Regions from separate parts of the Homo sapiens genome. Here all the other regions are linked to region 1. Evidence: promoter capture Hi-C in 16 types of primary human blood cells and fetal thymus (Javierre and others, 2016). All regions are on one chromosome and are shown on one strand. Each heading gives the region's core, a stretch centred on a gene start or on the middle of the fragment in contact. The rest is flanking DNA. Distances are from core to core; before and after follow the strand shown.

The links. The method cuts DNA at HindIII sites, captures the fragments that hold promoters and counts their contacts. A CHiCAGO score of 5 or more calls a contact.
Region 2: a fragment that was not itself captured here is called in contact with the fragment with the promoter of LRIT1 in region 1 in 1 of 17 cell types (activated CD4 T cells); the score reaches 6.9 in activated CD4 T cells.
Region 3: a contact is called between a fragment that was not itself captured here and the fragment with the promoter of LRIT1 in region 1, in 1 of 17 cell types (naive CD8 T cells). The highest score is 5.5, in naive CD8 T cells.
Region 4: a contact is called between a fragment that was not itself captured here and the fragment with the promoter of LRIT1 in region 1, in 2 of 17 cell types (naive CD8 T cells and total CD8 T cells). The highest score is 6.3, in naive CD8 T cells.
Region 5: a fragment that was not itself captured here is called in contact with the fragment with the promoter of LRIT1 in region 1 in 3 of 17 cell types (non-activated CD4 T cells, activated CD4 T cells and M2 macrophages); the score reaches 6.0 in non-activated CD4 T cells.

What each region holds. Positions count from the first base shown.
Region 1 is chr10:84,240,212-84,242,911 of GRCh38, reverse strand. It overlaps LRIT1 (leucine rich repeat, Ig-like and transmembrane domains 1), which reads left to right and starts at 1,366. Exons shown (of 4, transcript NM_015613.3): 1 at 1,366-1,594. The coding sequence starts at 1,473. The HindIII fragment of the contact is 15,150 bases long and covers 351-2,700 here.
Region 2 is chr10:84,511,129-84,513,900 of GRCh38, reverse strand. CCSER2 (coiled-coil serine rich protein 2) reads right to left here. Exons shown (of 10, transcript NM_001284240.2): 10 at 1-452. Among named protein-coding and RNA genes, the nearest start is that of CCSER2, 180 kb to the right of the region's middle. RefSeq lists a silencer at 1,222-1,422. The HindIII fragment of the contact is 2,369 bases long and covers 312-2,680 here.
Region 3 is chr10:84,611,171-84,613,870 of GRCh38, reverse strand. No RefSeq gene overlaps it. Among named protein-coding and RNA genes, the nearest start is that of CCSER2, 280 kb to the right of the region's middle. The HindIII fragment of the contact is 5,833 bases long and covers 1-2,700 here.
Region 4 is chr10:84,553,334-84,556,033 of GRCh38, reverse strand. No RefSeq gene overlaps it. Among named protein-coding and RNA genes, the nearest start is that of CCSER2, 230 kb to the right of the region's middle. The HindIII fragment of the contact is 8,206 bases long and covers 1-2,700 here.
Region 5 is chr10:84,594,124-84,596,823 of GRCh38, reverse strand. No RefSeq gene overlaps it. Among named protein-coding and RNA genes, the nearest start is that of CCSER2, 270 kb to the right of the region's middle. The HindIII fragment of the contact is 225 bases long and covers 1,264-1,488 here.

The DNA.
Region 1 (2,700 bases), core at 117-2,616:
TGGTGGGGCGAGATAGGGTTAGGAGAGAATAAGTAAAAATTGAAATTAGTCTGGGTGCAGTGGCTCAGGCCTGTAATCCCAGCACTTTGGGAGACTGAGGTAGGAGGATCGCTTGAGGCCAGGAGTTTGAGACCATCCTGGGCAACATGGCAAGACCCTGACTGCAAAAAATAATTTTTTAAAAATAGCCAAACATGGTGGTGGTTGCCTGCAGTTCCAGCTACTTGCGAGGCTGAGGCAGGAGGATGGCTTGAGCTCAGGAGTTCGGGGCTACAGTGAGCTATGATTACACCATTGCACTCCACTCTGAGTGACAGAGCAACCCTGTCCCTATAAAGCAAAACAAAGCTTTATGGATGGAGAATTTCCAAAGGCCCTTATTAGAGGTTGGGGTCCTGTCTCCAAAAAAACCTGAAAGTGCCTTCTCTAAGACCTCTCTGAGCTACCTCTCTGGGGCCCTCCTTGGAGTAGGGCACCTTGAGGAGAGGGGTGCCCTTGTCCCTTATGTGGAGACATCTCCACCTTTGGCATTCGTAGCAATGCCCAGAAGGGCTCAGCTGAAATAGTAGTGTGTTGAGTCCATATCCATGGGGCACTCAAGGCAGGCAGCTGTTTGCCTGGCAGCCTGGGACAGTTTGTGGGCTCATGAGAGACACCTCTGATGTCTCCCCAAAATATCTGAATCTGTCCAGTTCTTCTGTAAGTAGGGTCTTATAAGTACCAGTGAAACTGGGCACTTACAACTTGTGAGAGAGCTTCTGTTCCCACAGGCTGTCAAGGCCTTGGAATTTGAGTTTGATTTTCACAAACACCCTGCATGAAGTAACTTTATTTCTCTTTGTCAGATAAGGACACAGAGGCCAAGAGATAATGTGACTCACCCAAGGTCACAGCCCCTTAATGGAGCAGCTGGGATTTGACCCCAGGAAGCCTGGGTCCAGAGCTTAGCCTCCTTCCAATGCCTTTAGCACCATCAGGAAGAGTTGCTTCATTTCACTGCTTTTTTGCTATGAGACAGTGTCACAGGAAAGAATTTCCAAAGGCCCTTACTGAGGCGGGGGTTCTTTCTCCATCTTCCCTGGCACTCCAGTGGGGTCTGTGTTGTCCGTGGCCTTGTTGGGATGGGATGCTTTGCAGATGACAGTCCCATGGCTGCTCGCCTCTGGAAAGCTGCCTACTTGTCTTGCTTTGCTGTGCCCTGCCCTGGCCTCTCTGGGCCTGTGGATATTGCTATGGAAGGGGGTCCCCCGCCCCTACCCTCAGGACTGAGTGATTCAGAAAGCAATAAGCCTCTGAGTGCTGCGGCTGGGACTCCCCTCCCTAATCCCCAGTCTGTCCATGTTTATCCGATGGCCTCAGGAGGGGGTGTAAGGGGCTGGCGAGCAAGTGGGCAGCTGCTGAGCTTGCTGGGCCGGTGGGACGGAGCGGTCCAGGGACAGGCCCCTGCCTGGGCCAGAGAGGAGCCAGGAGCCATGAGGGTGGCATTAGGCATGCTCTGGCTCTTGGCCCTTGCGTGGCCCCCCCAGGCCCGGGGCTTCTGCCCCTCTCAATGCAGCTGCAGCCTCCATATCATGGGTGATGGCAGCAAGGCCAGGTATGGTACCGGGTGCGTGGGACGGGCAGCCCAGCCTCCATTGCTTTGCCAGCTAGGCTGGGTTGGGAGGAGTTGGAGCTGGGGCCCTGGGTGAGGTCTTCATCTCCCTTGGCCCTTGAGGACCAGGGATCCTATGGGGTGGACTGTGCTGCATTGTTTTCCAGCAGGCAAGGGGGTGACTCTATTCGAGAGGTACCAGGTATCTATACACATGGGCCCGAGGGTGAGGCACAAGTATGTCAGTTCTAAGAAGTCCTTCCTAAGTCCTCCTCCAGGCTCCTGGTGAAGAGCCCTCCTTAAAGGTCCAGGAAATCTCCTCCCTTACTGCTTTTTCTTCTCTTTTATTTTTTCTATTCCCTCTTCTTTTCTATATTTCCCCAGCCCCTTCTTTCCCAGGCCACTTGCACTCTCTTGCCTGACCTCTCTACAATATTCAATCATATCCCAGGCATTTCCTACAACCCCACCCATGATGGGACCACTTGCCTCTCATTCTCTTCCTCCTCTCCATCTTCGCTGGCCAGATCCCAGGAGCCTCAGCCTCAATACCTTTTTATGAGTGCTCCAAAAGCCAGGAGTGCCCATCCCATGACAAGCATGCTTCCTTCCATCCCCAGCCTTTTCCTTGACTTTCCCCACCCTCTGTCTGATCCCTCAGAGCACCTCCATTCTCTCCTCCTCTCCTTTCATGGGACATTCCCATGCCACTGTGGCTTGTGGACCCTTGCTCTTCCACTACTGCTCATTTTCTTCTTTTCTTTAGCAACGTTTAAATCATCTTTTCTCCAACTTCTTTAGCTTATCCATTAATGACCTCTGCATGGTTTCTGAGCCACTGATGGTTTCTGATCCTGGGAACAATGTTATTGGAGCTACCCTTTTAATAATCTTGGCAATGAATGTCGAGTTGATTGGGGGATGAGAGGAGAATGGAGAAGAACCACTAAGAAAAGACACCTCAAATGATCTGAGAACCAGAATGAGCTCCACTGTAGCCCAAGTGTCCAAGGCATCAACTCATATGAAGTGTAAGGGTCCTGTCCCCAGTAGAAGCCAGGCTGAGCCCTGAACAGCCTGCTGTTCCCAGCCTGGGCAGTGTCACTGGA
Region 2 (2,772 bases), core at 247-2,746, 270 kb before region 1:
GATGGCTTTAAAAGCTGCAAGGACTTGGGCTGAGACATATAACCCACTGGCGGAGACTGATTTCTTCCAACTCTCTTAGCCTGGTCTACTGTACTTGACTCGGGAGGTGTCTGAAGAGAAGTGGGTATAAACTGCATGTCACTAATTTGATTGTTTGCCAAATGATAAGGCTCTTGAGCATTTACAGTAATGTTTAAGTTTGCTTCAGAAGGTGTACTCTTAGCCACATCCATTGTTAATTGTGGGCCTGATGAAAAAGGCTGCTCTTCCAAACCATAGTTGCTTTCTTGGTGCAAGACGTGTGTAAAGCTTTCTTCCGGATGTGCACCGCCCTGATGCATGTCTTGGATTGAGCATTCACTGCGGGCCTCGATACGTTGTGGCTTTATTAGTTTTCCCTGGGTGTGATCTGTGGGTCTGGGAAGGCTGCTGGAAGGCTGTAGTACTTGAGGCTGTTAAAATTAAAAACAACATTAGCAGCAAGTTCTTAGAAATTCCACCCAGATTTAATATAAATACCAATTAGGCTGTGTTGGTACTTATTATGGCTTTAATATGGAAAATATGTGGAGTTTCTTTTAATTAAAAAATGAACTGCAATATTCAAGCAAATTAGACACATACAAGAGTGATAATGCAAACAAAAAATGATACAGGCAGTAAACACTGAACAAGATCCAAAATTAAATGAGAAAAAGAAAACATTAAAGTACTAATTTATTATAGAAAAAATTCCTGCCATAATAGATTCATTAGGTATTTTAAACCTTAGAGCTTGACAGAATGATTCTACAGCTTTTGGTTTAACCTCCACAAAACATTCAGGTGTTAACGGTGACCTTCGGAATACTACTTACATTAAAGTTAAAAAAAAAAGTTGTACACCATGTTAACAAGTGTTGTTCTTCTGTCAAGAATGAAAAGCACCAGCAGATAAACAAGATTTAGAGTAAATCACTATATTCTCAGTTTATGTGAAATTCTATTTATTTAACAAATATAGGTCGAGACATTTAGCTAATGCTAACCTATTTTTAATATTCTTGTTGAAAAGTTTCCAAATAAAATGTTTCAAAGTTTATTTGTTCTGTCTCACTCCTATTATGGCTGACATGTGAAAAACAGATCTACCCTAATGAAAAGTAAACATTCATTTACTTAAATTTAGAATAATCAGCCTTTTGAATGATGGCTCAGAGTAAAACAAATGTGAAGTTGCCTCTAACTGCAACTAAAGAACAGAAGCCTATGACAAGGTTCTTAGGGTCTGTGTGCCTCACATGTACTTCCCTGAAGCTCATTGTGTAGTTATGTTTCAAAAACAATCAGAGGAACTATGCCATTTCCATGATTTGGGGGTATCCAGTAAAAAATACAAATCTGAAAGCTATCTTTCAATGGCCCAAATAGTTAAAATATATGGGCAGGGCCAACTGGGCCTGTCCTGATACAGGGGTATTTGCTACAAATGCATTATCTCTCTCCTCTCTCTCTCTCTCTCTCTCACACACACACACACACACACACACACACTGTTTAAATAATGTGGGCTAAAATGTCAAAAACTTTGGCAAAGGGCTTTACAACATGAAATTCAGAGGGCCATTTCTCACTAATAAGTTTTTTTTGCTATGCTAATCCACAAATAAATCTACATAGTAGCTCTAATTTCCCCAATAGAAGGGGCGGATCTATTTATACTGCATCATTTGTGTTTTTTTCAGTTCTTCCACCTCCCTGACCAGCACTGGACAATGGCTGCCCAGGATCAGCAGCCAGGGATTAGATTATGGCTGGATTGGGAGTGACTGAGGGCAAGGCTCATCAACTCATGGAGGATGGTTGGCTATGATGGCATACAGCTGACTTGCATTAAAAAAAAATCAAGACAGTGACTACTCAAAATTAATCTGTACAGAAATATGTCACATCAAATCGTATTGCAGAATGTTTGAAATAAACAAGTCAGCTCAATTGCTGCCTCAAGCTAAATATCCCAGACTTTAAAGTCACTGGGTATTTTCACAGCACATCAACACAAAAATGAATGAACTGTCCCGCAAAACGGAAGATACTAAAATCACCACATAATTAAATCAACAGATTCTCCCTGGGGTTCCCTAGATAAAAATGACCGTGCCAAAGTGATCAAAAACCTTGAAAGATTAGTGAAAAAATAGAGCAGGACCATATTAAACAAACCAAAATCTACCAAAGGGAATAAAAAGTAATTAGGAAGGAGGCACGATCAATTGGTTGGTTGAATGGGGATTTGTTTTTCCTTTTCACCCTCAAACATGGTAAGATATTCTAGTTCCAAGTTAAAACTCTTAAAGCAATTTAAGACTTCTGAAAATATCAGTGACAATTTAAAAATGGACTTTATTGTAATATGTCTATTGCCAATAAGAAAAAAGGTATAAACATGTGCTATCAGTGAAAAGCATAAAAAGATGATTTTTCAATTAAGACAGGTAATAAACTGATTATTAAGACAACCTACCTCCAGAAATGCCCAGGAAAGGGCCATTGTGCACTATAAATTTGTACTGTTTTGTACTCACCACTTGTACTGTTTTGATTACTCACAGTACCCAACTGACCACTGCTTATCAGAGAAATAAACGGAAATACAGCAGAGTCAGAAAGACAAGCTACTTGTATTAAATGCAATAAAGCTTCATATCAAATATTAATGAATTAGAAAACATCCAGTTTTTAAAGAATAACAAAATGTTGAGTCAACCGAGAGGAATTTAACAGTTTTATAAA
Region 3 (2,700 bases), core at 180-2,679, 370 kb before region 1:
TTGGACTTGCTGACTGGAGGTCAGAGCTGAGAATGGCAGTCCCCCAGTTCCCCCAAGAAAGACACGTTGCCTCTGTACCTTGACAAGACCCATGATCAGCAACGAATTCACTGGCCACCTACTCTGTTGGCTGTTGGATTTGAAGACAGGGCAAAAGATAACACACAGACACACATATTTTGTTTAAATTGGGCTTTGCCCAACTCACAGAATTACCTAGGCAAGGCATAAGAGCCACAGCCCTGGCTGTTCCTCTGTGGCTGAGACAACACTGACATCTTGTGGTCTTGAATTCAGCCAGCCCTAAGCGTCACAGGCCAGAGTCTACCCAGCCCTGCCAGGAGGAGCTTTTCCCAGCCCTACAAATGGGAATGGATCCATTCTGTGTGGACTCTGCCTGCAGGGGGCTCATGGTTTAGCAGGACACCCAAGTAACCAACCATGTGCACACACTGGGTGACACAGACAGCGCCTGGCATCTGACCAGCCGCACACACACACTCAACCCAGACAGCAAATACTCAGCGTGCAACACTGCGGGCAGCTCCAGAACTGGCGTTAAATAAGAAGCATGCAGACAATTACAATACAGTGAGAAAGGTGCCGATTAAGGTATGAATAACAGCTGTGGGAACACACAAGCAGAGTGGACAGACAGCCAGAGGATACGGTAAGCCTTCAGAAATGACATAAGATCAGGAACACAAAAGATACTGTGGAGTAATCAAGGAAGCAAGGTGCGGAATGATTAAGTCAGAATTTCCCAGCGTCACAGAATAGATTCAGTTTAGAGGTGGAGTGCTAAGCCCCGGGAGATGGCTTCTACAGCATGAGAGGGGATCGACAGGGTTCATTTGGGGAGAAGCAAGAGTGCGAGTGAGAGACACAGAGAGGGAAAGCGTAAAAGACAAGTCTGTAAAGATAGACAGCCTTGAATGCTAGAATAAAGCGTTCACGTTATTCAATTGCTGAAAGTCACGTTATAACGCTGTATTTAAGAAGAAATGATCTGGCAAAGATAAAGCATGAACTATAAGCACAAGACAAAGACTGGAAAGATGCTCCCCCTCGTGTCAGCAGGGGCTGTCCCTAGGAAAGAGGACTATAATGCTTATTCCTGTCATTTTTCTTTTTTTTTCTATTGTTACATATTTTAATACTTTGGTAATGAAAGAAATGACGATCAAGCTATTGCCATATGAAGCAGATGGATGATAAGAGTGGGAGCCTGGCCACTCGCATAGTCATGGTCAGTTTCCTTCAGGAGGAAGCTCCTTCCCAAAAGCAGACAGGACAACAGGGCTATGTGAGACTCCGGATCAGAATCTCAGCATCTGTCTAACTGGGAGGACCCTTAGGTATCTACTCAACCCCCTGCTGCAGACAAGGGCTGGGGCTCTTGGAGAGGAAGTGGCTCCCCCCGGGACACACAGCCCTTCCTAGACCTCAGGATTCAGGCTCAGCTCCTGATTCCCTCTCAGGGCCCCCTCCTCTTCCCTTCCCACCGCTGCTCACCTCCTCTCATTATCTGTATAGCCAGAAGCCACCACAGCATGGCCAGGACCCAGAGCTTCACGAGGGCCCTCAGGTAGCAGCCAAGCCAGGGCTGCAGCAGCACGTCTGCCTTTCCACAGGTCAAGGCTAAGACATACTGTAAAGCTCCACCTGAAAAAGAAAGCAATGAAATACCAGGACCTGGCAGGGCACGGTGGCTTACACCTGTAATCCCAGCACTTTGGGAGGCCGAGGTGGATGGATCACCTGAGGTCGGGAGTTCGAGACCAGCCTGACCAACATGGAGAAACCCCGTCTCTACTAAAAACACAAAATTAGCCAGGTGTGGTGGCGCAAGCCTGTAATTCCGGCTACTTGGGAGGCTGAGGCAGGAGAATCGCTTGAACCTGGGAGGCAGAGGTTGTGGTGAGCCGAGATTGCGCCATTGCACTCCAGCCTGGGCAATAAGAGTGAAATTCTGTCTCAAAAAAAAAAAAAAAAATACCAGGACTTATTTTTTAAAAATGTAAGGACCGGGCACAGTGACTCACACCTGTAATACCAGCACTCTGGGAGGCCAAGGCAGGTGGGTCACCTGAGGTCAGGAATTCAAGACCAGCCTGGCCAACATGGTGAAACCCCCGTCTCTAATAAAAATACAAAAAATTATCTGGGCATGGTGGTGGGCACCTGTAATCCCAGCTACTCAGGAGGCTGAGGCAGGAGAATCGCTTGAACCCAGGAAGTGTAGGTTGTGGTGAAACGAGATCTCACCATTGCACTCCAGCCTAAGCAACAAGAGTAAAACTCCATCTCAAAAAAAAAAAAATTAAATTCTTGAGTACACATGCAGGATGTGCAGGTTTGTTACATAGGTAAATGCGTGTCATGGTGGTTTGCTGCACCTATCAACCCATCACCTAGGTATTAAGCCCAGCATGCATTAGCTATTTTTCCTAATGCTCTCCCTCCCCACACCCCACCTGCCGACAGGCCCCAGCATGTGTTGTTCCCGTCCTTGTGTCCATGTGTTCTCATTGTTCAGCTCCCACTTATAAGTGAGAACTTCCAAATACCAGAACTTTTATGTTATTTCAGCCAGTGGTTCTCAAAGTGTGTTTCAGAAACCCATGGAAGTACCCATGACCCTTCCATGGAGTCTGTAAACGCAAACTATTTGCATAAAAATACTAAGTACAATCTAGC
Region 4 (2,700 bases), core at 112-2,611, 310 kb before region 1:
AGTCAATTAAGCCTATTTTCGTCATTAATTACCCAGTCTCAGGTTATTTCTTTATAGCAATGCAAGAATGGACTGACACACACACAATGGAATACCACTCGACTTTTTAAAAAGAATGAAGCATTTATATGTGCTTGCACAGAAAAAATTCCAATTCATGTTTTTAAATGAATAGAGTAAAAGGATAAATAGTATATTTCTTATATGTATTAAAAAGGAAAGGATACAAATGTATAAATATTTACATATATTAATACACTATAATTATATAAACCTTTTAGGAAATATACACAGAAACTGTCAGTAGTGGCTACCTTTAAGGGATAGTACTGAAAATAGAAGAAGGCTTTTACCTTTTGTAGTGTTAAATTTACCGTGTGTATTTATTTATAGTGATTTATATATGTAAATCACACTCATATACACAATATACATATACAAAAACACATGTACACATTCATGCAGACGGTTCTTGCTTTAATGTCTAAACTTTGTAAAAAGGTTTCCATATACTTTTTAAATTTTGGCAGACACTTATAAAAAATAATGACTTGGGTTTTGGAATATTGATCTAATGTCCTACTTCTGGCAATGATTAGATAATAGTCCAATCCACCTCTAAGGACAGGCTTAATTCAGAGCAATAATACATTTCCTCCCATTTGGGAGCTTAGCCCTGCTTTAAGCAGGTGATCAAACTAACTGCAGAGTGGAGAGTCAAAGCAGGAGTCTAGTTCTGTGGGAATAAGGGTTCAGTTTATAAACTCTGGGCATCTATGGTTTGTTCAAGCAATTCACACACTATTCATCTTATAATTAATAGAGGTAAACCGGAGACTACAGATCATTGCCCACCACCTAGTACTTCTCTCGTTTTGCTTTTAGTCTTTTTCCTGATTCATCCCAGTCTTTCCTGGTTCCTGATTCTGAGTTCACTTTCTTATCTTTCTCTCTGCTTTCTCCTGACTTTTGCAACTTTAATAAAGTCTTGTTTTTTAGCTTGTCCTTCTTTAAGTACTTTGGTTCATTCTACTTTTAGCTGCATTTTGTAGGTAACCATCTCTACTCATTAGGATCCATTTACATTTTATAGTATTTACATTTGGCCATCACCAAGCCAAGCTGTACAGGCAAGAGAGTTTTGGTACTAATTATATCCAGGCCAAAATTTGCTTTATCTTAGACCACAGCAATCCCTAGTCTGCTCACAGGACAGCCCTGAGTAAAGGAATACAGGAACCTAGCATTTGCAGCCAGTTGAACAGACACAAGGAATAGTGACTATTGATTAATTCTACCAACCATACTTTCATCCATTATATTACTTGGGAAAAAAAAGAAAGAGAATTATCTTTTTTATTATTATTATTATACTTTAAGTTTTAGGGTACATGTGCACAACGTGCAGGTTTGTTACATATGTATACATGTGCCATGTTGGTGTGCTGCACCCATTAACTCGTCGTTTAGCATTAATTTATATATGACACAATAGTATTCCTTGAAGAGACTCATTTTAAAAGTACTGTTATGATGAATTCAAGTGAATGTGATTTGGTGACTGGATACAAGGCAATTATACAAAGATCACTATACTAGTTTGTTGTCATTGTGCTGGTTGTTGTTTTTCCTGCAGCAGTCAGAATTCTTTTTTTTTCCGAGACGGAGTCTTGCTCTGTCGCCCAGGCTGGAGTGCAGTGGCGTGATCTCGGCTCACTGCAAGCTCTACCTCCCGGGTTCACACCATTCTCCTGCCTCAGCCTCCCAAGTAGCTGGGACTACAGGCGCCTGCCACCGCGCCCAGCTAATTTTTTTGTATTTTTTTAGTAGAGACGGGGTTTCACCAAGTTAGCCAGGATGGTCTCAATCTCCTGACCTCGGGATCCGCCCACCTTGGCCTCCCAAAGTGCTGGGATTACAGGTGTGAGCCACCACGCCCAGCCCAGAATTCTTAATGTAAACAAATAAGTCAAGCTATTTTAAACAGAAATAAAATGTGTTAAAAGACAGGAAAACTCTGGAAGGACCAGAAAATCAGACCTGGTATTTCATCAGAGAAGGGCCCCCAAATTACTCCACAGAACTGAAACAGTGGAGTCACCATTGCCATCCTCCCTGGGCACAGACATTGCAGCTTGCCTCATTGACCCAATGGATGTAAAGCACTGTCTGTCACAATGAGAAAATCTGCCTCTGCAGGCTTCACGTATCTGCCACAAACCCTACCAGAATGCTTCGGTATTTCTTTCTATGTTATTAGCTTCTGAATCAAAGTCTGGAAAAGTATAACTAAGTGGCAAAGCCAGAGTCAAATGCCTAATTTTCAGCTACAAGGGAGGCTAGGAAATATCCATGGAGGAGATAGTCTTTACCTCTCACCATGATACATAAAGTGGGAAATTCCTCAAGCACAGGAAATATATCCAATGCTTCTGGATGGCCAAAGAGAATGAGAAATGTCTACTGTAGTTCACTCCTTTAACTGTCCAACACAGCACATGACCTTCTTCTATACTTAATCTTCCCAATCACACAACAGTAATGGTCTCATCTGAAATAATAAAACTACCCCCAGAAATATGTACTCATGTTCCCTAAAGCAATGCCTTATTGGGTATTTTACCCAGCTCCATATCTAGGCTCACTGTGTAATGCCCAATCCTTTTCTAGTTCTATATATTGATATTCTGTACACAATGC
Region 5 (2,700 bases), core at 127-2,626, 350 kb before region 1:
GGACTGGCTCTCTCTTCTGCACCATTGCAATAGTTTGCCATTACTTTATGCACACATGCATGAATAAATGCGCATCAAGCTCTGACTGCAGGGCAGGTCCTGTGCTAGGCACTGGGGAAAGATGCCATTTCTGCCACTGCAAACCAGAAAATGAGCAATGCCAAGTTGATCTTCCCAAAGACCATCACTAACTTGTCACTTTCCTACTCTGAATTTCTAGAAAGGGGCTGGGCACGGTGGCTCACGCCTGTAATCCCAGCATTTTGGGAGGCAGAGGCGGGTGGATCACGAGGTCAGGATCCTGGCTAACATGGGGAAACCCCATCTCGACCAAAAATATAAAAAATTAGCCAGGCATGGTGGTGGGCGCCTGTAGTCCCAGCTACTAGGGAGGTTGAGGCAGGAGAATGGCCTGAACCCAGAAGGTGGAGCTTGCAGTGAGCCAAGATCGTGCCACTGCACTTCAGCCTGGGCAACAGAGCGAGACTCTGTCTCAAAAAAAAAAAAAAAGAATTTCTAGAGAGGTCGCCTTATCTCATGGACTAGCTCAATACCTAAAGGAGTTATTAAGACAGAAACTAACTAGTGTTAGTACCTCCTTGCCCAATCTCCACTCCAGGAAAGATAGCCCAGCTTTATTTCTAAAACTCTGAGCTCTCCTTATCTTTACCTCTCCCTACTCTTGGAGAAGCTTAAGAGTTTTGTGTGAGTGTGAGTGTGTGTGTGAATGCAATCCTAAACTAAAGCTGGTCATGTAAAAGGAGGGGATGAAGGTGAAAACTTTCAGGATAAAAGCAGAAGCCAGCAGACAGGAAGTTTTTTTGTTTGTTTGTTTGTTTGTTTTTTGAAATGGAGTCTTGCTCTGTTGCCCAAGCTGCAGTGCAGTGTCGCAGTCTCGGCTCACTGCAAGCTCTGCCTCCTGGGTTCACACCATTCTCCTGCCTCAGCCTCCCGAGTAGCTGGAACTACAGGCGCCCGCCACCATGGCCTGCTAATTTTTTTGTATTTTTAGTAGAGACGGGATTTCACTGTGTTAGACAGGATGGTCTCGATCTCCTGACCTCATGATCTGCCCGCCTCGGCCTCCCAAAGTGCTGGGATTACAGGCATGAGCCACTGCGCCAGGCCCTGAGAGGAAGTATTTTTGCCAGAAGGAGGGGACAATTACTCCTCAGCTGTATTAGGTAGCCAGAGGAACAATCGTGATCACATGAGAAAGAGGAACCTGGGTCCTCTCTAAATTTTTCCGACACCAGATAAGCTTCAGATCCTTTGATGACACCATGGTGGAGAGGAAGAAGTCTCATTAGTAATTGCTACTGGGTATCCTCCCAGCCAGATAGGTGAAGTCTGAGAGCAAATTTAATCTGATTAAGAGAAATAAAGGAATATGGCATGTCATACCCTGTTGCTGTGAAATAAGATTTATACCAAAGGTCAAAACTCCTTGACTGAATGCTTACAGCTCTCCATGACCAGATACAAGCTTGAGTCTCCAACTTAGCCCACCTCTCCACTACCTAACATCTAGGTAACATCTATACCATGTTCAAGCATCGCCTAAAAGTGTCCTCTTATTTCAATTTTTTTGGATTAGTAACTCCCATCCCTGTGCAACACTTGTTGCAGACGTCTTTCTAAATGTCTTATCTTCTTTTTAGAGGAACCAACTGCTGAGTGCCCCTCAGCAGAACTCATCTCCTGACTAATATTCCACAATTTAGAAGCCACTACAGCCGGAAATGTATCCATGTCTACTACATAAAAGATGTCAATAGTCACTGGTCACTAACAAGAGGAGGGGGAGGGGGCATGAAGCCCACCTACCAAGCGGACTGGCATCCTCAGTCGGCCTCACGCCAGCTGTGTTCCTTGGGCAGGTTAATCTCTCTTACCCACCTCAAAATACTGTTATGAAAAATGAGATGATGTATGTAATTATTGAAAAAGAGGCCCACACATAAAGTGCCCCAAGGATGCAAGAGTCCCTCCCACTGAAAACAGTGATCAGCAAAGAAAATGGGAATAAGATGCCATGGTGATAAAGGGAAGACTCAGATTCAGAGAAAACTTAGAGACAGTGCTAAAAATGCAGATGCAATGACCAAGGTGACAGAAAAAAGAAAGCTACGCAGGGCACCGCCAAGTAGAAACTATGGAGAATCTATAGACCCACATGGCCGAGGGCGGTGGCTCACGCCTGTAATCCCAGCACTTTGGGAGGCGAGGCGAGTGGATCACGAGGTCAGGAGATTGAGACCATCCTGGCTAACACGGTGAAACCCCACCTCTACTGAAAATACAAAAATATTAGCCTGGCATGGTGTTGGGCGCCTGTAGTCCCAGCTACTCCGAAGGCTGAGGCAGGAGAATGGCGTGAACCCGGGAGGTGGAGCTTGCAGAGAGCGGAGATCGCGCCACTGCACGGCAGCCTGGGCGACAGAGCAAGACTCTGTCTCAAAAAAATAAAAATAAAATAATAGACCCACACGCAGGGTAGGTCACCAAGTCCGTGACATGAAGCCCACTCCGGGAACTTGGGGCCACTTTTTAATTCTCACCCTGCGCTCCCCACACACCTGTGCCTCGCCAGTGTGACCCACGCTTTGGTCTTCCTCTCTGTGCCATCTGCAGACTCCAACTGACATTTTTTTCTGGCCCAACCTATTTGTGTCTGATAATCTTATACATGGGTCTCAG